Regions from separate parts of the Homo sapiens genome. Here regions 1, 2, 3, 4, 5 and 7 are each linked to region 6. Evidence: promoter capture Hi-C in 16 types of primary human blood cells and fetal thymus (Javierre and others, 2016). All regions are on one chromosome and are shown on one strand. The core of a region is centred on a gene start or on the middle of the fragment in contact, and the rest is flanking DNA. Distances in the headings are between cores, read along the strand shown. Region 1 overlaps RPL14 (ribosomal protein L14). Region 2 holds the start of CMTM7 (CKLF like MARVEL transmembrane domain containing 7). Region 3 overlaps UBP1 (upstream binding protein 1). Region 4 has its middle 4.0 kb from the start of TMPPE. Region 5 overlaps UBP1 (upstream binding protein 1). Region 6 holds the start of EPM2AIP1 (EPM2A interacting protein 1). Region 7 has its middle 4.1 kb from the start of UBP1.

Evidence for each region. The method cuts DNA at HindIII sites, captures the fragments that hold promoters and counts their contacts. A CHiCAGO score of 5 or more calls a contact.
Region 1: a fragment that was not itself captured here is called in contact with the fragment with the promoter of EPM2AIP1 in region 6 in 1 of 17 cell types (non-activated CD4 T cells); the score reaches 6.1 in non-activated CD4 T cells.
Region 2: the fragment with the promoter of CMTM7 here is called in contact with the fragment with the promoter of EPM2AIP1 in region 6 in 1 of 17 cell types (M0 macrophages); the score reaches 7.7 in M0 macrophages.
Region 3: a contact is called between a fragment that was not itself captured here and the fragment with the promoter of EPM2AIP1 in region 6, in 3 of 17 cell types (activated CD4 T cells, naive CD8 T cells and total CD4 T cells). The highest score is 8.1, in activated CD4 T cells.
Region 4: a fragment that was not itself captured here is called in contact with the fragment with the promoter of EPM2AIP1 in region 6 in 1 of 17 cell types (total B cells); the score reaches 5.7 in total B cells.
Region 5: a fragment that was not itself captured here is called in contact with the fragment with the promoter of EPM2AIP1 in region 6 in 1 of 17 cell types (M1 macrophages); the score reaches 5.2 in M1 macrophages.
Region 7: a fragment that was not itself captured here is called in contact with the fragment with the promoter of EPM2AIP1 in region 6 in 3 of 17 cell types (non-activated CD4 T cells, activated CD4 T cells and total CD8 T cells); the score reaches 8.2 in non-activated CD4 T cells.

What each region holds. Positions count from the first base shown.
Region 1 is chr3:40,458,948-40,462,141 of GRCh38, reverse strand. RPL14 (ribosomal protein L14) reads right to left here. Exons shown (of 6, transcript NM_001034996.3): 4 at 636-735; 5 at 481-534; 6 at 1-203. Among named protein-coding and RNA genes, the nearest start is that of RPL14, 3.2 kb to the right of the region's middle. RefSeq lists a silencer at 3,010-3,194. The HindIII fragment of the contact is 1,723 bases long and covers 389-2,111 here.
Region 2 is chr3:32,390,467-32,393,495 of GRCh38, reverse strand. CMTM7 (CKLF like MARVEL transmembrane domain containing 7) reads right to left here and starts at 1,643. Exons shown (of 5, transcript NM_138410.4): 1 at 1,431-1,643. The coding sequence starts at 1,589. The HindIII fragment of the contact is 6,143 bases long and covers 1-2,385 here.
Region 3 is chr3:33,408,355-33,411,247 of GRCh38, reverse strand. UBP1 (upstream binding protein 1) reads left to right here. Exons shown (of 16, transcript NM_014517.5): 6 at 1,647-1,799; 7 at 1,902-2,012; 8 at 2,451-2,558. It also overlaps a transcript of FBXL2 not described here. Among named protein-coding and RNA genes, the nearest start is that of UBP1, 31 kb to the left of the region's middle. The HindIII fragment of the contact is 3,325 bases long and covers 1-2,893 here.
Region 4 is chr3:33,099,657-33,102,538 of GRCh38, reverse strand. No RefSeq gene overlaps it. Among named protein-coding and RNA genes, the nearest start is that of TMPPE, 4.0 kb to the right of the region's middle. The HindIII fragment of the contact is 1,746 bases long and covers 519-2,264 here.
Region 5 is chr3:33,426,629-33,429,460 of GRCh38, reverse strand. All of the region lies in intron 1 of UBP1 (upstream binding protein 1), which reads left to right. Among named protein-coding and RNA genes, the nearest start is that of UBP1, 12 kb to the left of the region's middle. RefSeq lists an enhancer at 2,809-2,832. The HindIII fragment of the contact is 3,479 bases long and covers 1-2,832 here.
Region 6 is chr3:36,991,639-36,994,735 of GRCh38, reverse strand. EPM2AIP1 (EPM2A interacting protein 1) reads left to right here and starts at 1,605. Exons shown (of 1, transcript NM_014805.4): 1 at 1,605-3,097. The coding sequence starts at 1,659. It overlaps MLH1 (mutL homolog 1), which reads right to left and starts at 1,218. Exons shown (of 19, transcript NM_000249.4): 1 at 1,073-1,218. The coding sequence starts at 1,188. RefSeq lists enhancers at 517-1,028, 945-1,164, 1,535-1,884, 2,005-2,324, 2,355-2,434. The HindIII fragment of the contact is 4,668 bases long and covers 734-3,097 here.
Region 7 is chr3:33,443,090-33,445,941 of GRCh38, reverse strand. No RefSeq gene overlaps it. Among named protein-coding and RNA genes, the nearest start is that of UBP1, 4.1 kb to the right of the region's middle. The HindIII fragment of the contact is 4,305 bases long and covers 1-2,852 here.

The DNA.
Region 1 (3,194 bases), core at 1-2,500, 3.5 Mb before region 6:
TGGCCTGTGGCTTTCTGGGCAGGAACCTTCTGGGCTGGAGCCTTTTTACTCGCGGCGGTGATCTTTTTTGCTGGAACTTTAGCAGCAGCAGCAGCAGCAGCAGCAGCAGCAGTACCCTTAGTACCAGGTGCTTTTTTGGGAGAAGCTTTCAGGAGAGCTGCCTTTTGAAGCTTCTTAACTTCATTCTTGATTATTCTGTTCCTCTGAAAATTATCAATGTAAGAAAGCACTTATTGTGTATACATACAATAAAATCCAATTTATGCTGGTTTTAGAAAGGGCATTAAGTAGTCTGTTTCCCTACAACTACATCTGAAGAAAGGTAACAATTCCATAGGGACATCATGAAATACAAATGAAGATAAATTCTCCTTTTTTACAGAAAGCTTCCAAGAAGCTGGCAGCCTGAAATGGGATTTGGCTACTGCTCCCTTATTATTTAAAGCTAAGTTACACAAAAATACAGATCTTAAATCTTACCATTTTCTTTGCCTTCATAACTTTAAAACGATCAAAATCTGTCATCTTGGCTTTCTGTTAAAAAAAAAACAACAAATAAAAATTATCCCTCTCACACTATCTTGAACCCTCCAAAAAAAGAAAGGACCAGAATTCAAATGACCCTAAGTTATTACCCTTTCTCTGGCTTCAATCTTCTTGGCCCATCGTGTGGCTGCCCATTTTGTATTGATGTCTGCCTTCTGCCAGGCTTGTCGGACATACTTCTGGTGGGCACTAGAACGAGCCAAGACCACAGATTAAGAAATCAGCTTTGAAGTCACTCATTATCAAAGACACTTTCTTTGTTCCTTGAAAAGCACTCTTCCTGTTACACAACACCTGGTACACTATGTATTTTACTTATTTTTGTGTTCAGTAAGCCAGAATAGGTTATTAACTTCAAGCATATTTTAATCAAAACTGTAATCCAGTCCCTTTTTTTTTTTGAGAGAGGATCTTGCTTGCCACCCAGGCTGGAATGCAATAGTATGATCATGGCTCACTGTAGCCTCAACCTTCTAGGCTCAAGCCATCCTCCTGCCTCAGCCTCCCAAGTAGCTGGGACTACAGGTGCATACCAGCACACCCAGCTAATTTTTATATTTTTTGTAGAGACAGGGTCTTGCTACGTTGCCCAGGCTGGTCTCCAACTCCTGGGCTCAAGCAACCCTCCACCTTGGCCTCCTGAAGTGCTGGGATTACAGGTATGAGCCACTGCACCCAGCCCAGCCCATTTTATGAATTTAAAAACTACCTCTTGACCAGGCGCAGTGGCTCACACCTGTAATCCCAGCACTTTGGGAGGTCAAGATGGGTGGATCACCTGAGGTCAGGAGTTCAAGACCAGGTTGGCCAACATAGTGAAACCCCATCTCTACTAAAAACACAAAAATTAGCTGGGCGTGGTTGCAGGTGCCTATAATCCCAGCTACTTGGGAGCCTGAGGTTGCAGTGAGTCAAGATTGCGTCACTGCACTCTAGCCTGGGTGACAAAGTGAGACTCCGTGTCAAAAGAAAAAAAAAACCCTCAAAAAAAACACAAAAAACCCACCTCTGACTATATATAATTCCACTCGGGCAGTGGACGTGTTGAAAACCATTCTTTTTTTTTTTCTTTTTTTGAGACAGGGTCTTGCTCTGTAACCCAGGATGGAGAATGCACTGGCGCAACGTTGGCTCACTGTGACCTCTGCTTCCTAGGTTCTAGCAATTCTTCTGTTCCATCCACCCAAATAGCTGGGGCTACAGGAGTACACTACCACACTGGGCTAATTTTTGGACTTTTAGTGGAGACGGGGTTGGCTAGGCTGGTCTCAAATTCCTGACCTCAAGTTATCTACCTGCCTTGGCCTCCCAGAGTGCTGAGATTACAGGTATGAGCCACTGCACACATCCGAGCCATTCATTCTCGTAACAAACAAGGTAATTAATATTAACTGTTAGGCTTTTTTTTAAAAAAAAATTTACAGTAACAATTTGTGGCCAAACATCCTAAAAATAAAATCCAGGGTGTCCAGGGATCCAAGGCAGAATTACAAGAGTACCTAGTGAAAAATCTAAGTTACCAAGTATTTTCTACTGCTTTGAACTTTGACAAGTATCCTCAAGCTTCACCCCTAATTGGTATGTCACAGTAGTAGCAGCATGGCTATGTTCACTCGAGGTTGTTCAAGTGGCATGTTTTCAACTACCAGTACTTCAAAATCCATTATGTGTTAATACACGTCCCACAGTGCCTGTAGTGCTCAGCATACAGTAAGTTTTTTTTTTTTTTTTTTTTTTGAAACGGAGTCTCGCTCTGTCACCCAGGCTGGAGTGCAGTGTTGCGATCTCGGCTCACTGCAAGCTCCGCCTCCCGGGCTCACGCCATTCTCCTGCCTCAGCCTCTGAAGTAGCTGGGACTACAGGTGTCCGCCACCATGCCCGGAATATTTTTTTTTTGTATTTTTAGTAGAGACGGGGTTTCACCGTGTTAGCCAGGACGGTCTCCATCTCCTGACCTCGTGATCCACCCGCCTCGGCCTTCCAAAGTGCTGGGATTATAGGCGTGAGCCACCGCGCCCGGCCAACATACAGCAAGTTTTTGACTATTTTTTAAAGCATGCAAAATTACATGTTCCACTGCAACCATCATTGTGGGTTGAATTAACTGTATAGCAACACACTAAAGTGTTTTAATTTTCATGTCAAAAAAGAACTGCTATTCACTGCCTCACTTAAATGTAAGCTAGGGATAAAACCTCTTATATTAAATACTGTGTAACTGACACACACTGAGAGCTTATCTAATGATAGCTAGTAGCAATAAACACAAGACTTAGTATTGTTGTTTACTTTAAGCTAAAAATTTGGCAGAAACCAGAAGAAAAGAAGATGGCAAATCTAAACAAAGGCAAAGCCCTAAACTACCAGGATAGAAAAGTGACCTCAAGGCATTTATTTTATTTATTTATTTTTGAGACAGGGTCTCACTCTGTCATCCAGGCTGGAGTGCAGTGGCATGATCACGGCTCTCTGCAGCCTCGACCTCGCTAAAACGATCCTCCCAACTCAGCACCCCCAAGGCCCCCCTACCTGGGATTACAGGCGCGTGCCACCATGCCCAACGAATTTTTTTTTTATTTTTTGTAGAGATGGGGGTTTTCGCCATGTTGCCCATGCTGGTCTTGAAACTTGGGCTCAAGAGACCCTCC
Region 2 (3,029 bases), core at 394-2,893, 4.6 Mb after region 6:
CTTCTGATCCCATTCTCTGTCTACCAAACTCATCCCTTCCAATGCTCAGGTAGGATATGTCTCACCCCAGCCCATCTTTTAAGGATGGTGAGATGGGCTGGTCTCTTCTATTTGGCTGATCAAATCTCTTAGCCTGGGCCAAAAAATGCCCTGCTCAAACCCAACAATGCTCAGCACCAGATTTTTTTGTACGTTGCTGAAATGGCTCTTCCTAGTTTTTGGTCTATCTAGACACCGTTCTTAGGGAGGCAGGAACTCAGCGCCCCTTCTCTTTAGGTCTGGCCCAAGCAAGACATGAGGGCCACCTCATGCACACTCAGTGTCTGGAATGGCAGTGCTATAGATGCACAGACGTCCTGTGCCCAACCCCCTGGGGCCAGGCCACCTTAGCAGGCCCCAGCTTCTGGGTGTGTGACCTTGTCCAGCCCCACACTCCTTTCCCCACACCTCTTTTTGAAACTTACCGCTCCCCTCCCCACCGTTCTTGGTGCAAACATTACAATGGTGGAGACTCACAAACAGCCCAACCCAGTTTCAAAACACATCATACAAACGGAAAAGTTGTTTCAGATTACAAACTTTTAAAGAAGAAAAAAACGGGAGGGGAGAAAAGAAAAGAGTGGGGAACAAGAGAATCGGCCAGGCAACGTCTGCCCTGGTAGGAGGCCCTTGTGCTGAGTTGGTCACAATCCAAGCCCAGACACTCATCCTGCCTGGCTCCACGGGTGACTCCCATTCAACAGTCTGGCTCCCCTACATGAGTACCAGCCCCTGACAACAGGCCTTTCCCAACTGACCCCCTGCCCTCCAGAGCCCCCTGAGACCCGGGCCCTCCCTCGGAACTTGAGGGCGCAGGGGACCAGGACGGCCGTCTCAACGGTCCCAGTTCTTTTTCCCCACTATGGAACACAAGACCCTCTGACCTCCTCCTTCGAGCGAAACTGCACACAGAGCAGGGAAGCCCTGCCGCGCTGGGTTCGGAGGAAAGAGGAGGCCGTGGACGGGGAAGAGGTCGGGTTTCGCTCCCTCAGCGCCGCCGCCTGGGCGACTCTTCCACCCCCGGCTCGGGTTCGAAGCGGCGCGGCCCAGAGAAGAGGAAGAAAGACGAAAAGGAACTTTGCCCGTGGTTTCAGTCAGTAGGCGGGTCAGGCTTCGCAGGGGGGTGGCCGGAGAAACTTGCGACCCTGGCGACCTGGGTCCGCGGGAGCAAGGGCCGGGGCGGCTCTGGGGACTGAGCTCCAGCGCGGGGGCTGCGGCAGCAACTTTCCCGGAGGAAGCCTGCCGCGAACTTTAGCGACGCGGTGCCCCGCCCGCTGCGCGATGCTCCCTGGGCTCCGGCCGGGTCCAGACGCCCGGCGCGTCCGCTCCCGGACCCCTGCTTTCCCGGGACGCCCTGTAGAACCTCGGCCTCGCGCCCCGCGCTCACTTACCATTTGCGCCACTTTCAGCAGGGCCGCGTGGGTGCGGGGGTAGCTGAGGTCCAGCAGCCCCTCCAAGGGGCTCGCGCTGGGCTGGGCCGCGCCGGCCCCGGGTCCGAGCGCGCTGCCGCTGCTGCACGTGGTGCGGACGAGCCCGGCTCCGTGCGACATTGCGCGGCCCCAGCTCGCTGGCCGCCTCCCCGGGCAGCTGCCCAGGGGCCAGATACAGAGGGCGGGCCGGGGGCGGGCGGGGGCGGGCGCTGGCGAGGGCGGGGCGCCCGGGTCCCTGCCCCGCTGCTGGAGACGCGGAGCCGCCTCTGGCGGGATCCCTCCGGTGACTGGCCGGCCGGCGCCTTCCAGAAAGGTAGCGGCAGTCCCGGCCCTCGTAGATGCGCGGAAGTTAGACTGGAGCGAGAGGAAACCGGATGCCTTGGGTCGTGGCCTCTCCGAGGTGGGCAAGGCCCGGACCACAGCTGGTACTGAGCCTCCTGGGATTTTGTGTGGGTGCGGCTGCGGATGTGTGCTGAGAGCACTTTACTGAAGTTTAACTTACATAAAGTGTGATGCCCAGACCTTACGTGTTCAGCTCCACTAATTTTTATATATGTGTACACCTGTGTAACCGTCGCCCAGATCAACAAATAGAACGTGCCCATCACCCCAGAAAGTTCCGTGGTGGGCCTTCCTGACCTACCTTCCTTCCCTGGCCCCATCCTTATCCAGCCTCAGGCAACCACTACAGTGTATTCTGCTTTCTGTCACTGTAGGTTCATTTTGCCTGTTCTTGGACTTCATAAACTTGAAGTAATACAGAATATTCTCCTTCAACATAACAAATTAGAAGATCCATCCTGTTGGGAATATAAGTAGTTCATATCAGTTCCTTCCTTTTTATTGCTGAGTAGTACTCCACTGTGCAAAGATACCGTATTTTTTAAACGTTTACCCAGTTGATGGACACCAAGCTTGCTTCCTTCCTACCTGCTTGCCTGCCTCCTTCCCTCCTTCCGGCCTTTCCCCCCTCCCTCATCTCTTTTCTGGCTATAGTCACTATTATGGTACACGTTTTTTTGGTGGATACAAACTCTCATTTCTCTGGGACAAATATCTGCAAGTGAACGCACTGGTTACAAGGGGAGCATATGTTTGCTTCTGTTAGAAGCTGTCAGCCTGGGGAACATGGCCAGACCTCATTTCTACAAAAAACAAAAAATAAAAATAAATTAGCTGGGCCGGGCGCGGTGGCTCACGCCTGTAATTCCAGCACTTTGGGAGGCCGAGGCGGGCGGATCACGAGGTCAGGAGATCGAGACCATTCTGGCTAACACGGTGAAACCCCGTCTCTACTAAAAATACAAAAAATTAGCTGGGCGTGGTGGCGGGCGCCTGCAGTCACAGCTACTCGGGATGCTGAGAATGGCGTGAACCCGGGAGGCGGAGCTTGCAGTGAGCAGAGCTTGCGCCACTGCATTCGAGCCTGGGCGACAGAGCGAGACTCTGTCTCAAAATAAAAATAAAAATAAAAATAAATAAATAAATAAATTAGCTGGGTGCAGTGGCACATGCCTGTTCAGGAGGCTGAGTCTGGAGGAGCCTTGGAGCCCAGGAGGT
Region 3 (2,893 bases), core at 108-2,607, 3.6 Mb after region 6:
AAAATTCCTTCTAGCATTATTTTTAAAACATTCTAATACTGAAAAATTCAAACCTCTACAAATAGGATAATAATGATGACTAATTGTCCATGTAACCATCACCTGGCTTTAGCAGTTTTTAGTAGTTTCCGCCCCCTTTTAGTTATTCTTGGAGCACTTTTTTTTTTTTTTTTTTGAGATGGAGTTTCATTCTGTCACCCAGGCTGGAATACAGTGGCATGATCTCGGCTCACTGCAATCTCCGCCTCCCAGATTCAAGCTCTTCTCATCTCTCAGCCTCCTGAGTAGCTGGGATTACAGGTGTGCACCACAATGCCTGGCTGATTTTTGTATTTTTAGTAGAGATGGGGGTTTCACCATATTGGCCAGACTGGTCTTGAGCTCCTGACCTCAAGTGATCTACCTGCCTTGTCCTCCTAAAGTGCTGGGATTACAGGTGTGAGCCACTGTGCCCAGCCTGTTAGAGTACTTTAAAGCAAGTTTCAGGCATACCATTTCATCCATAAATATCATGTCTCTAAGAGATGAGTTTTAAAAAGTAACTATAATATCATTATTCTGTGTTTAAAAAAAATAGTGATTCTAATACCCACAATGTTCAAATTTGTATGTGGTGGAATTTAAACTACCAGGTAGGTAATATATAGAAAAGGAAAACCACTTACTTGCTGACCAGCCTTCATAAGCTATGCTTTGCATGAACTGTAAAAAATCATTTGTATTTTGCATTTTGGTATTCTACCAATATTATTCTCCATCAGTTAATCCCTGGGGGCATGGTTTATATCCGTTGAATATTGATGTAAACTCATACTGTTGGTGTTTGTCTATAAGGCAACTAGTTATGTAGTAAATCAAAGTGATACAAGACCTGGCTTTACATATCAGGTTGTGTTGTCATATTGCAGAGATCAGTTTTAATAGTGAGTCATTAGAAGAGGGGGATGTGCAGCAGTCAGAAATGACCAAGGTCTTGCTGTTAACTCTGTGTGAAACCCTAAGGCTGTCATCCAGGGTGGGTATTAGGAGACAGGGCAGGAGTGGTGGAAGATGAGTATTGCCCTCTGGATCCTGAATGGACTTTGAAGAGTTGACCAAAGAGTTTAGATGGATACAGAATAGGATGGGTAGTGGGTTTTCTGGACTGTAAAATTTCCCCAGGCAAAGTATCACAAATTGGCATCTGTAGGAACAGCAGTAAGATAGTTGGCTGGGTAGAATAGGGGTAATGGCAGTAGAGGGCAAACAACAGAAGCTCTAAACAATGAAGTGAAGATTGCTGTGGATTGAACAGGGCTTAGTACCCTGGGTCTGAGATGAGCAGACAGTCCAAGGTGGAGGTGGGCAGTATACATAGGAAGCTACTGTAGTGTTGTACCCCTGATTGGACCCAAGTCCTGCATTAGAGGAGAGGCACTGTGATGGGCAAGAGCTCAGAAAGTCTGGAGAGGCTCAGTTGGATTTGTGAGAGGGAAGCCATATCTTAAAAACAATTAGGTTCATAGATAATTTGGCTAATATGTGTGATGAGTTTATTTTAAAGGATCTTGAATTTATAGTGGTGTCAGGTCACTCAAGAGGGAACAAAATAGAAAAATAACCAGTGGAAGTTCTTTGAATCCATTTCAGCCTGAATCGTTTTATAGGTACACTGCATCAGCACAGAATTTACTCCACGGAAGCACGGAGGTGAAAAGGGAGTGCCCTTTAGGATCCAGGTTGACACCTTTAAGCAGAATGAAAATGGAGAATACACAGATCATCTACACTCAGCTAGCTGCCAAATCAAAGTTTTTAAGGTAAGACAGAGAACCCGGGTTTTCTGTAATTAAGGCTCAGTTTTGCCTGTAAAGCTGTGTGTCTGCAGCCTGATAGATGAAATAGTATACTTTGTTTTTAAGCCTAAAGGTGCAGACAGGAAACAAAAAACTGACCGAGAGAAGATGGAGAAGAGAACAGCTCATGAAAAAGAAAAGTATCAGCCGTCCTATGATACCACAATCCTCACAGAGGTAATGTAGTAAAGCATTTGGTTTTGGAAGAGAAGCAAAGGTTGCATATTAGTCTATTTCTAAGATGAGTTCTGCTACAAAAGGGTTGGGGAAGATTGGGTGGCAGTTTGACATGTTATTCTCTGTGAAATTTCTGGGGAAAATATTTAAATTTGGGGATTTTGATAGACTGTTTCCTGGGTGGGATCTTAAATGAAGATGCTGAAATCCCAATGAGGTCTTAGAAACAGACCTTAAAAACTTTGAAGTTGGCAAGAGACTTAAGTTGGAGCCTAGAAAGTCCAATTTTTGTCACTGCTGGGGTTTTGCATTTTTTTTAACTTTGAATCCTGTTAGTCATGCATTTGTTTAATTGGACTGAAGAGACATGAAACAGGGTGTTAGATCTTTCTTTGTATAATGAAAAGACATTGATCCCAATCTTTGGTGTTTGTCCAGATGAGGCTTGAGCCTATAATTGAAGATGCAGTTGAACATGAGCAGAAAAAGTCCAGCAAGCGGACTTTGCCAGCAGACTACGGTGATTCTCTGGCAAAGCGAGGCAGTGTAAGGGACTTCTGCTTCTCTTTTCATTGTGCAAGAAACCTTGTGCAGTGTTAGATATAGGACCAACTTCCACCGCAAAGTAAAGCCAAAATTGTTTTTGATGTCCATGTCTTGATTTAATTTGCTTTTGTTTAGACTTCCTGCTTCTGTTTGTTCCTCACTGAGGAAAATTTCCTAAATCTAACACTTTAAAACAAAGCAAAAAACAATGTTGACCATATTGGGTGGTTTTGGAGGGAAAAAAAGACACTCAGAGATATGTATTCCCTCCCTGACTCCTTCCCTTCCTCCTTCCCTCCCTCTCTCCTTCACACACACACCTCCTTCAAGAGCAC
Region 4 (2,882 bases), core at 142-2,641, 3.9 Mb after region 6:
AAAAAGAAAAAAGAAAAATTTGCCAGACATGGTGGCCTGTGCCTGTAGTCTCAACTACTCAGGAGGCTGAGGTGGGAGGATCACCTGAGACCTGGAGTTCAAGGCTGCAGTGAGCCATGATCACGCCACTGCACTCCAGCCTGGGCAACAAAGTGAGACAAGAAAGAAAAGAGAGAGAGAGAGAAAAGAGAAAGAAAGAGAGAGAAAGAAAGAAGAAAGAAAGGGAGAGAGAAGAGAGAGAGAGAGAAAGAAAAAGAAAAGAAAGAAGGAAAGAAAGAAAGAAAAAGAAAAGAAAGAAGGAAAGAAAGAAAAAGAAAAGAAGGAGGGAAGGAAGGAAGGAGGGAAGAAAGGAAGGAAGGTAGGTTACATAAAATTTTTTATTGAAATGCAGGTCAGAACTGACACTGGGAATGAAAATTTGCTGAGTAGGAAAACTCCATAAGGGAAAACAGATCAAAGAAACTGAGTTTGATGATTAACTTGTGTGTAGAGCCCTGTTAGAACAGAAAAACAAAGCTTTCCTATGTTTTGGGGCCACACGTTTTTCTCCCTCTCATTGTTCTTATGCTACTGATGAGGCCTCTGTGCTTCTCAAACTATTTTTGGTAAAGGATGAGTTGTGTTTTTTTGTTTGTTTGTTTTGTTTTGTTTTGTTTTTGAGACAGATTCTCGCTCTGTCGCCCAGGCTGGAGTGCAGTGGCGCAATCTCACCTCACTGCAAGCTCCGCCTCCCGGGTTCCACGCCATTCTCCTGCCTCAGCCTCCCGAGTAGTTGGGACTACAGGCGCCCGCCACCACGCCCGGCTAATTTTTTGTATTTTTAGTAGAGACGGGGTTTCACCATGTTAGCCAGGATGGTCTCCATCTCCTGACCTCATGATCCCCCCGCCTCAGTCTCCCAAAGTGCTGGGATTACAAGTGTGAGCCACCGCGGCCGGACTTTTTTTTTTTTTTTTTAATTATTAGTGCTCTTTCCTGCCTATCAAGGATTGATCCTTTCATAAAAATTCAATAAAAATAAATTATTAGAAAAATAGGCCGGGTGTGGTGGCTCACACCTGTTATCCTAGCACTTTGGGAGGCTGAGGGGGGTGGATTGCCTGAGCTCAGGAGCTCAAGACCAGCCTGGGCAACATGGTGAAACCCCATCTCTACTAAAATACGAAAAAATCAGCCTGGCATGGTGGTGTGAGCCTGTAGTCCCAGCTACTCAGGAGGCCGAGGTTTAATTGCGAGAACCCAGGAGGTGGAGGTTGCAGTGAGCCAAGATCATGCCACTGCGCTCCAGTCTGGGCGACAAAGTGAAACTCTGTCTCAAAAACAAACAAACAAAAACTACTAGAGGCCAGGCGTGGTGGCTCACGCCTGTAATCCCAGCACTTTGGGAGGCCGAGGCAGGTGGATCACCTGAGGTCAGGAGTTTGAGACCAGCCTGACCAACATGGAGAAACCCCATCTCTACTGAAAATATAAAAGTAGCGGGGCATGGTGGCACATGCCTGTAATCCCAGCTACTCAGGAGGCTGAGGCAGGAGAATCGCTTGAATCCAGGAGGCAGAGGTTGCAGTGAGCCAAGATCGTGCCATTGCACTCCAGCCTGGGCAATAAAAGCGAAACTCTGTCTAAAAAAATAAAAATAAAACATTACTAGAACAATGAAATAAAAATAGATGCGTAATGATTTTGTTCATTATTAGATTCAACAGATAGACTTACTTTCTCAAATTGCTGCAAGTTTCTAAGTGCCTAGGCTGAATTTCTGTACTTATTGCACAGCACTGGTCTAAGGATCAGACTCTGAGAAGTATTAGTCTATATTAGAGCATGTACCATGTTTAGAGATGAGTGCCTGCAGGGTGACAGCCTTCTCATGGTCCCTTCATATTCTCCAGTATGCAGGGGGCTTTGCATCCAGCACACTCTGTCTGTGCATTTAAATGGGAACCAAACAGTACACTATGAGCAGAAGCATAGCCTTGTGAAAATAACTCAGGCCCTAACGTCAGGCAATGTAACTTTAGAGACTCTACTGCTCCCCAGCTCTGTGGCTACTGGCAAGTCATTTAACTCCTCTGGGTCTCAGCTTTCTCATCTGTGAAATGTGGATAAGAGCATGCAGCTCGGATTGGGAGGAATAGTGACACATACTGGTAAAGCATTCAGCACAACAATGGCTATTACTACTATTGCCATTTCAACTACAAACATAGTCAAATACTAAAAATCTCAGAAACAATCTACAATCTATATTCCTTTGGCAAGCTTATACTGTAAAGGGCTAGAACATAAATATATTCAGTTTTGTAGGTCCTAAGATCTGTGTTGCAACTACTCCATTCTACCGTTGTAGCGTGAAAGCAACCATATGCAATATGCAGAGGATTATAGGTGGCTGTGTTCTAAGAAAACTATTTATGTGTAATCTTGGCACTTTGGCAGCCAAAGTGGGCAGATTACTTGAGGCCAGGAGTTCAAGACCAACCCTGGCAACAAGGCAAGATCTTGTCTTTAGAAAAAAAAAAATTATTCAGGCATGGTGGCACTCGCCTGTAGTCCCAGCTACTTAGCTACTCAGGAGGCCGACATGGGACGACTGCTTCAGCTCAGGAGTTCAAGGCTGCTGTGAGCTATGATTGCACCACTGCACTCCAGCCTGGGTGACAGAGCAAGACTGTGTCTAAAAAAACAAAACAAAACAAAAAAAACAAAAACCAACCCCACAAAACTTTATTTATGGACACTGACACAGGAAACTTACAACATTTTCAAATGTCATAAAATATTATTCTTTTGATTTTTTTTCATTCATTTAAAAATGTAAAAACCATTTTTAGGTGGCAGGCCATAGAAAAACTGGCAGCAAATTGTGCCGATTCTTAGTA
Region 5 (2,832 bases), core at 214-2,713, 3.6 Mb after region 6:
CTACTTGGGAGGTTGAGGTGGGAGGTTGAGGCTGTAGTGAGCCATGATCATGCCACTGCACTCCAGCCTGGGAGACAGAGCCAGACCCTGTCTTAAAAAAAAAAAAATAAAGAAACACCCTACTTTTAGTTCCGTTTAACATTCTGTCTTTAGTACTCAAAAGTCTGTTTCCATTTATGGGATTACAAAAACCATCAAGGTTTTAGGACTTTCAACATAGTAGAAATTATAATCTTGTCTGGAGACCTAGTTTTCAATCTTAATACTAATTGGTTGATTATTAATGCAGCAATCAGTTCATTGATTTAGCAAGTATTTGAGCTCCTTTGTGCTAGATGCTGGCATCAGTCATTGAAGAAACACGTATTTGGAGTTACGTGCTTATAGCAGATACAAAGTTAGTAAGTCATGTATATTTTTGGAAAGTGGTAAGAGCTGTGTATAGAGCTAGGGTAGGGAAATTGGGAGTGTGGGTGGGAGGACTCCAGTGTCATGTTGTCACTGAAAAGATGACATTTGAATGAAATGAGCCATTAGGATATCCAGTAGAAGAGTAGAATCAGGAGGCCGGGGTAGTTGGAGCAGGGGGAATGAGGGTGACGAGAAGAGGGGTTGAAGAGCAGGTTGCGTAGGGCTTTTTTTTTTTTTTTTTTGAGACGTAGGATTTCGTAAGGACTTTGGTTGAAAGTGAGCTGATGTAAGGATTCAGAGAATTGAAATGGTTTAACTTCTGTTTGAAAAGGATCACTGGTTGCTGTGTTGACTGGAAGGCATTTTCTTTCTAATTAAGTAAAAAATTAATTGGAAATTCAATAGCAAATAATCTTTACATGTTTATATGTTTGTTCAGGAGTCGTTTAGCACTTACCATGAGCATAGTATTTTCTGTGTGGATCATGGAGACTATAACCAAGTGAATAAAAAAGTGGTTGTCTTCTAGGATCTGAAGCATATAAAATTGTCTTCCATATGTGACAATTTATTAAAAAAAGCCATTCTCATGCAGTTATACATCTTATTTTGATGATCTGTATCTAATGATCAACCCAAGCAGTTAGCATTGAAATGTTAAAATTATTCCCTGTGTTATTTTTCGGTATAATTAATGGTTCTGAGTCACAACTCTCATTCTTGTTTTCTTTCTCTCTGAGAGGGTTTTAAATGCTTACATATACACAAAATGCAGTATATATTTTTATCTTCCCTGGAGCCAATTTGACTGTTATGACTGATTTTTATAAAGAGGTGATCTGATTCTTTTTTTTTTTTTTTTTTTTTTGAGATGGAATCTCGCTCTGTCACTGAGGCTGGAGTGCAGTGTCACGATCTCAGCTCACTGCAACCTCCGACTCCCAGGTTCAGGCAATTCTCTTGCCTCAGCCTTCCAAGTAGCTGGGACTACAGGCGTGCCCCACTACGCCCAGCTAATTTTTGTATTTTTAGTAGAGACGGGGTTTCCCCCGCCATGTCTCGAACTCCTGACCTCAGGTGATCACCCACCTCAGCCTTCCAAAGTGCTGGAATTATAGGTGTGAGTCACTGCTCCTGGCCTGAAGTCTTCTGAAAAGTTTTTATATCTGCCCCCAAGGCAGGAGCTTAGGTGGGGCAAAATCCCTAGGTCAAGGTGTTGAGAGAACTCTGTGGGAGTGTTGGGACCATTGCTAACCGTGTGATCCTTGGTTATTACTTGTGTACGTAGGAGTGTTTTGACAATTCCTGGGTATAAATAAGAGAGGGAGAATTAGTGGATAGTTAGTATCTTTGAAAATCAGCACAGTGCTTTAATAGAAATGCATGGGGGGAGTAGGGACTACTGGTGGGATAACGTTCTCTCCCAGGGTTTCCGTCCCATTTCACTTGTTTTCACATTCTGTTTTTGAATTGAATTGAATTGACCTGGCTACCCAAGTATCTTAGTGAACAGCTTGTAGGAAAAAAAGAGAAAATAAGCAGTTCAGACAAGTCCCTATTATTGGTGTTGATACAGTAGTTATTCATTTGATGTTTTGTTGTTGCTGTTATTATCATTTTACTTTTTATTGAAGAATGAGTATAGAAAAGTTAAGATACAAACGTACAGCTCAGATAATTATCTCAAAAACAAATAATCACCTTCCATACATTAATAGGGGAAATGTAAAATTATTGCAACCACTTTGAAAAACAGCTTGGCAGTTGCTCAGAAAGTTAAACAGAGGCGGGGCGTGATGGCTCACGCCTATAATCCCAGCACTTTGGGAGGCTGAGGCGGGCGGATCACTTGAGGCCAGGAGTTTGAGACTAGTCTGGCCTACATGGCGAAACCCTGTCTCTACTAAAAATACAATTACCTGGGTGTGGTGGCACATGCCTCTAATCCCAGCTACTTGGGAGGCGGAAGCATGAGAATGACTTGAGCCCAGGAGTCAGAGGTTGTGGTGAGCCAAGATACCACCACTGCACTCCAGCCTGGGTGACAAAGTGAGACTTTGTCTCCAATAAAATAAGTAAAATAAAGTTAAACAGAGTTACCATGTGATCCAGTAATTCCAGTTCCAGGTGTATACTTAGCAGAATTTATCTACACAAAAACATAGAAAAGTGTTCATAGCAGCATGATTCATAATTGCTAAAAAATGGAAACCACCCAGATGGCCATCATCTGAATGGATACAGAATACGGTATGCCTATACAATGGAATGGAGCCATTAAAAAGAATGAAGCATTGGTACATGTTAGAACACGGATGGTCCATGAAACATGCTAAGTGAAAGAAGCCAGTCACAAAAGACCACATAGTCATATGATTCCATTTAAATGTCCCAAATAGCAAATCCGTAGAGATAGAAAAC
Region 6 (3,097 bases), core at 356-2,855:
TGGCACAGTACAATAATAGGCCCAGTTGTCCTGTCAATTCATTCTAACACAGTAGAAACAAAAGCCAGTCTGCCATTGCTTCTGTTACTACTATTACAAGTGAAAAGGAAAAAACATCCCCAGGTTCTTGCTCCTTCTTTCATCTACCTTCCAATTCTCTTCCTTTCCTTCAGTGGTCCTTTCTACCCACTGTTCTCTCAGTCCCATTGCCCTGAATAGTTTATACTTTCACAATAAATCCCTCTAGAAACCTACCACTCCAAACTGAAGCATTCTTTTTTCTATTAACGTACGGACGTCACTAACAACTGATTTTAACAAAATAATCTGACATAACGTTTAGGTGTATTTTGGGCTTGTCTTTTTGGAAGTTTATAGTCTGCACTCACTTTTCCTTCCACATGTTTCAAATCTCTTCCCTTCACATTTTTTGTCACAGTTATAAGCTTCAAAATCCAAGGATGACCCATAAAATCTGGTATCTTCGAAGTGCGTCCTCCGAAATAAAGGACAGGAAAACACTAAGAGGGGTCACTAATTTAACAATAGGGTAATCAGAAGTCAAGCCCAAAGTGCATCAGCCTGTCCTAAAACTACAAACGATTTGTTTTGAAAGAAACTCAAAATGAATTGTGCCTTTGGATGTGAACAGATGATTTCTGGAATGAATGAAAAGCAAGAAAACAGTAACACAGTACCCTCTGAAAAAAGGTTTTTCTCCCCATCTTAAGCTTTTATACATCTTTTAACTTCGCATGTTCTGCATACATAATTTTAAATTAAGTGGCTTCCTTACTTAGTTAACGGTACCATTAAGACAACACTACGTATATTCCTCCACTTACACTCCAAACAACCCTTAAAAGGTCTCGGGGGAGAGCGGTAAAGAAACACACGGTCTGCGGAAAAGGAGAAGGCCTGACTGGCACGTCAGGGAACCCGGCGGCCTCCGCCGTTGTGGGCATGCGCTGTACATGCCTCTGCCCGGGCAAAGAGGCGTGTCCGCGCCATTGAGTGACGCGGCCCGTTAAGTCGTAGCCCTTAAGTGAGCCCGGCTCGACTCCCTCCGTACCAGTTCTCAATCATCTCTTTGATAGCATTAGCTGGCCGCTGGATAACTTCCCCCGCCGCGATGCGGTTCACCACTGTCTCGTCCAGCCGCCGAATAACCCCTGCCACGAACGACATTTTGGCGCCAGAAGAGCCAAGGAAACGTCTAGATGCTCAACGGAAGTGCCTTCAGCCAATCACCTCAGTGCCTCGTGCTCACGTTCTTCCTTCAGCTGTAGCTTACGCCATCCAGCCCCACCCTTCAGCGGCAGCTATTGATTGGACAGCTTGAATGCCAGTCAAATTTCTCAACTCTGTGGGTTGCTGGGTCTCTTCGTCCCTCCCTGAAGCGGCTACTGCCCGCTACCTAGAAGGATATGCGCTTGCGCGTTAGAGATCGCTGTCCGCTCTTCCTATTGGTTCGTTTTTAGGAGCTCGGGGAATACGAAATATCCAGCCAATAGGAGCAGAGATGCCGGAACCGGGCTTGTGTGCCTCTGCTGAGGTGATCTGGCGCAGAGCGGAGGAGGTGCTTGGCGCTTCTCAGGCTCCTCCTCTCCCCTTGCGGCCTTTCTAACGTTGGCCCTGCTCTTGTGGCCTCCCGCAGAATGTGGATGACGCCCAAAAGAAGCAAGATGGAAGTCGACGAGGCTCTAGTTTTCCGGCCCGAGTGGACCCAGCGTTATTTGGTGGTGGAGCCTCCGGAGGGCGATGGGGCCCTGTGCCTGGTCTGTCGCCGCCTCATCGTAGCTACCCGCGAACGCGACGTCAGGCGCCACTACGAGGCTGAGCACGAATACTACGAGCGGTATGTGGCGGACGGCGAGCGCGCGGCCCTGGTGGAGCGTCTGCGTCAGGGCGACTTGCCCGTGGCCTCCTTCACTCCTGAAGAGAGAGCTGCTCGTGCAGGCCTCGGGCTCTGCCGCCTCTTGGCCTTGAAGGGTCGCGGCTGGGGTGAGGGGGACTTTGTATACCAGTGCATGGAGGTGTTGCTGAGAGAGGTACTGCCCGAGCATGTAAGCGTCCTGCAAGGCGTTGACTTATCTCCAGATATCACAAGGCAGAGGATCCTGAGCATTGACAGGAATCTACGCAACCAGCTTTTTAACCGAGCCAGGGACTTTAAAGCCTATTCTCTTGCCTTGGACGACCAGGCTTTTGTGGCCTATGAGAACTACCTCCTGGTCTTTATCCGCGGTGTAGGCCCTGAGTTGGAGGTGCAAGAAGATCTTCTGACCATAATCAACCTGACTCATCATTTCAGTGTTGGTGCGCTCATGTCGGCAATCCTAGAGTCCCTGCAGACAGCAGGGCTTAGCTTGCAGAGAATGGTTGGACTGACCACGACCCATACTTTGAGGATGATTGGTGAGAACTCAGGACTCGTCTCATACATGAGAGAAAAGGCCGTAAGCCCCAACTGTTGGAATGTCATTCATTATTCAGGATTTCTTCACTTGGAACTGTTGAGCTCCTATGATGTAGATGTTAATCAGATCATAAATACCATATCCGAATGGATAGTTTTGATTAAGACCAGAGGCGTTAGGCGACCTGAATTTCAGACTTTACTAACGGAATCTGAATCAGAGCATGGTGAAAGGGTTAATGGACGATGTCTGAACAATTGGCTTAGGAGAGGGAAAACTTTAAAACTAATATTCTCTCTAAGAAAAGAAATGGAAGCGTTCTTGGTTTCAGTAGGGGCAACAACAGTCCACTTCTCAGACAAACAATGGCTTTGTGACTTTGGCTTCTTGGTGGACATTATGGAACACCTTCGAGAACTCAGTGAAGAATTACGAGTTAGTAAAGTCTTTGCTGCTGCTGCCTTTGACCATATTTGTACTTTCGAAGTTAAGCTGAATTTATTTCAAAGACATATTGAGGAAAAAAATCTAACAGACTTTCCTGCCCTCAGAGAAGTTGTTGATGAGCTAAAACAGCAAAATAAGGAAGATGAAAAAATATTTGATCCTGATAGGTATCAAATGGTGATCTGTCGTCTCCAAAAAGAATTTGAGAGACATTTTAAGGACCTCAGGTT
Region 7 (2,852 bases), core at 202-2,701, 3.5 Mb after region 6:
TCAAAGCCAGTCTTCTAACAAACAACCTTGTGCCTTAATAAATTAAAAAATAGGCTGGGTGCAGTGGCTCATGCCTGTAATCCCAGCACTTTGGGAGGCCAAGGCAGGCAGATCACGAGGTTAGGAGGTCGAGACCATTCTGGCCAATATGGTGAAACCCCGTCTCTACTAAAATACAAAAAAATTAACCAGGCATGATGGCGGGCACCTATAGTCCCAGCTACTCAGGAGGCTGAGGCAGGGGCATCACTTGAACCCAGGAGGAGGAGGTTGCAGTGAGCCGAGATCGCACCACTGCACTCCAGCCTGGCAACAGAGCAAGACTCTGTCTCAAAAAAAAAAAATTAAACAATTAAAAAACCCCAATATAGATAACTGATGTTAATACCTTTATTACCTCATAATCAGTCAAAAACTTTAGTCCACTCCTCTTAACCAATATCATAAATTTAAAAAAAAACATTGCCAGGAGGCCTTCAGTCTTGTAGATACAGACATCATTTATTGTCTCTTTTTCCATAATTTAGAATAAATGAAGCAATGATTAGAAATTTATCCCTCATGGCCAGGCATGGTGGCTCACACCTGTAATCCAACACTTTGGGAGGCTGAGGCGTGTGGATCACATGGTTAGGAGTTCGAGACCAGCCTGGCCAAAATGGTAAAACCCTGTCTCTACTAAAAACACACACACACACAAAAAAACAAAAAAACCTGGGCATAGAGGTGCACGTCTGTAATCCCAGCTACTCAGGAGGCTGAGGCAGGAGAATCACTTGAACCCAGGAGGTGGAGGTTGCAGTGAGCCGAGATTGTGCCACTGCACTCCCGCCTGGCAACAGAGTGAGACTCTCTCAAAAAAAAAAAAAGGAAAAAAAAAGAAATTTATCCCTCATGGCCGGGCGCGGTGGCTCACACCTGTAATCCCAGCACTTTGGGAGGCCGAGGTGGGTGGATCTCCTGAGGTCAGGAGTTCAAGACCAGCCTGGCCAACATGGTGAAACCCCATCTCTACTGAAAAAAAATATACAAAAAATTAGCTGGGCATGGTGGCGGGTGCCTGTAATCCCAAAAACTCAGGAGGCTGAGGCAGGAGAATCACTTGAACCTGGAAGGCAGAGGTTGCAGTGAGCCAAGATTACACCATTGCACTCCAGCTTGGGCAACAAGAGCAAAACTCCATCTCAAAAAAAAAAAAGGCCGGGCATGATGGCTCACGCCTGTAATCCCAGCACTTTGGGAGGCTGAGGTGGGCGGATCACAAGGTCAGAAGATCGAGACCATCCTGGCTAACATGGTGAAACCCCGTCTCTACTAAAAACAGAAAAAAATTAGCTGGGTGTGCTGGCGGGCACCTGTAGTCCCAGCTACTCGGGAGGTTGAGGCAGGAGAAAGGCATGAACCCGGTAGGTGGAGCTTGCAGTGAGCCGAGATCGCTCCACTGCACTCCAGCCTGGGTGACAGAGCAAGACTCCGTCTCAACAAGTAAAAAAAAAAAAAAGAAAGAAAAAGGAAATTTATCCCTCATAGTAGACTCTATAGCTGACTCTACTGCAAAGGCCATGGCACAACAGACTTTAAGTTCTCTTGCTAAAGTTGTGCTAGATAACGGAATTGCTGTATATTACTTACTGAGATACAGAGAAGTATGTATCTCTGTATGCAGATACTTCTCTGTATCTGCATACAGAGAAGTATGTATCTCTGTATGCAGATACAGAGAAGTATCTGCAGTTGCTCACACTTCTTGTTGCACAGAGATGAACATATCAGGTATTATAGAGATTCAGTTACAGGGGATTAATAAACAAGCTGCTTGGTTAAAACAGCTTGATCTTTTATCTAGCTCTTTCTTTGATCTATTTGATTTTAGTTAGTTTAGTTCATGTTGACCCTGGCTAAGGGGCATACTCCAAAGTCTTGGTATTATCCTCTTGGTAATCTTAATAGTAGTCTCCTATGTGCACTAAGGACTTTCAAAAGTTTTAAATGTTTACATACAATCATCCATAAAATGTCCATAAAATTTAAATAAATAAAAATTCCAACATAATAAAAAAAAAGTATCCTCTACTCTAACGCTTACCAGAAAATAACCTAAAGTCCTTATTCGCACCTTACAAAACCCACTGTTGTACTATTTCCCAATGGGATTTGCGACCAGATAAGTACATTTACAATGGTCAGAAAGTAATGTCAATGTCTAGGATTTTGGTCAACCTCTCTATTTTGGTCAAGTTGAGAGGTTGAACAAAAGGGGAGAAATTGTTAAATTGAGTTTAGCCTAAAGTTGCCTCCTTATAAGTTCAGCCTAAAGGTTTCTCTGTACACAGTAAATTGTAACCTAACTGGATGTATAAATGGTCTATAACCTATTATAACAATCGCTGAGTTTTGGCTAATTACAGGAGGCCAACTGTTCAAATAATACACTCAACCAATCAAGCTGTTTTTATATCTCACTTCTGTTTTCCGTACATCACTGTCCTTTTTCTGTCCATAAATCTTCTTCCACCATGCAACAGTGTTGGAGTCTCTCTGAACATATTCTGGTTCGGGGTGGCTACCTGATTGACAAATCTTTTTTTTGCAAAATTAAACTCTTATATTTAATTTGTCTAAAGTTTTCTTTTAACACTATCCTTCTTTTATATTTTGGTCTCTTTATGACATTACTATTTAGCGCTGCTTGATACTTCTATTTTTTTTCCAGACAGGGTCTCATCTGTCACCCAGGCTAGAGTGGCATTATCATGGCTCACTGCAAGCCTTGACCTCCTGGTCTCAAGTGATCCTCCCACCTCAGCCTCTGGAGTAGCTGGGACCACAGGTGCAGGTCACCATGTCTGGCT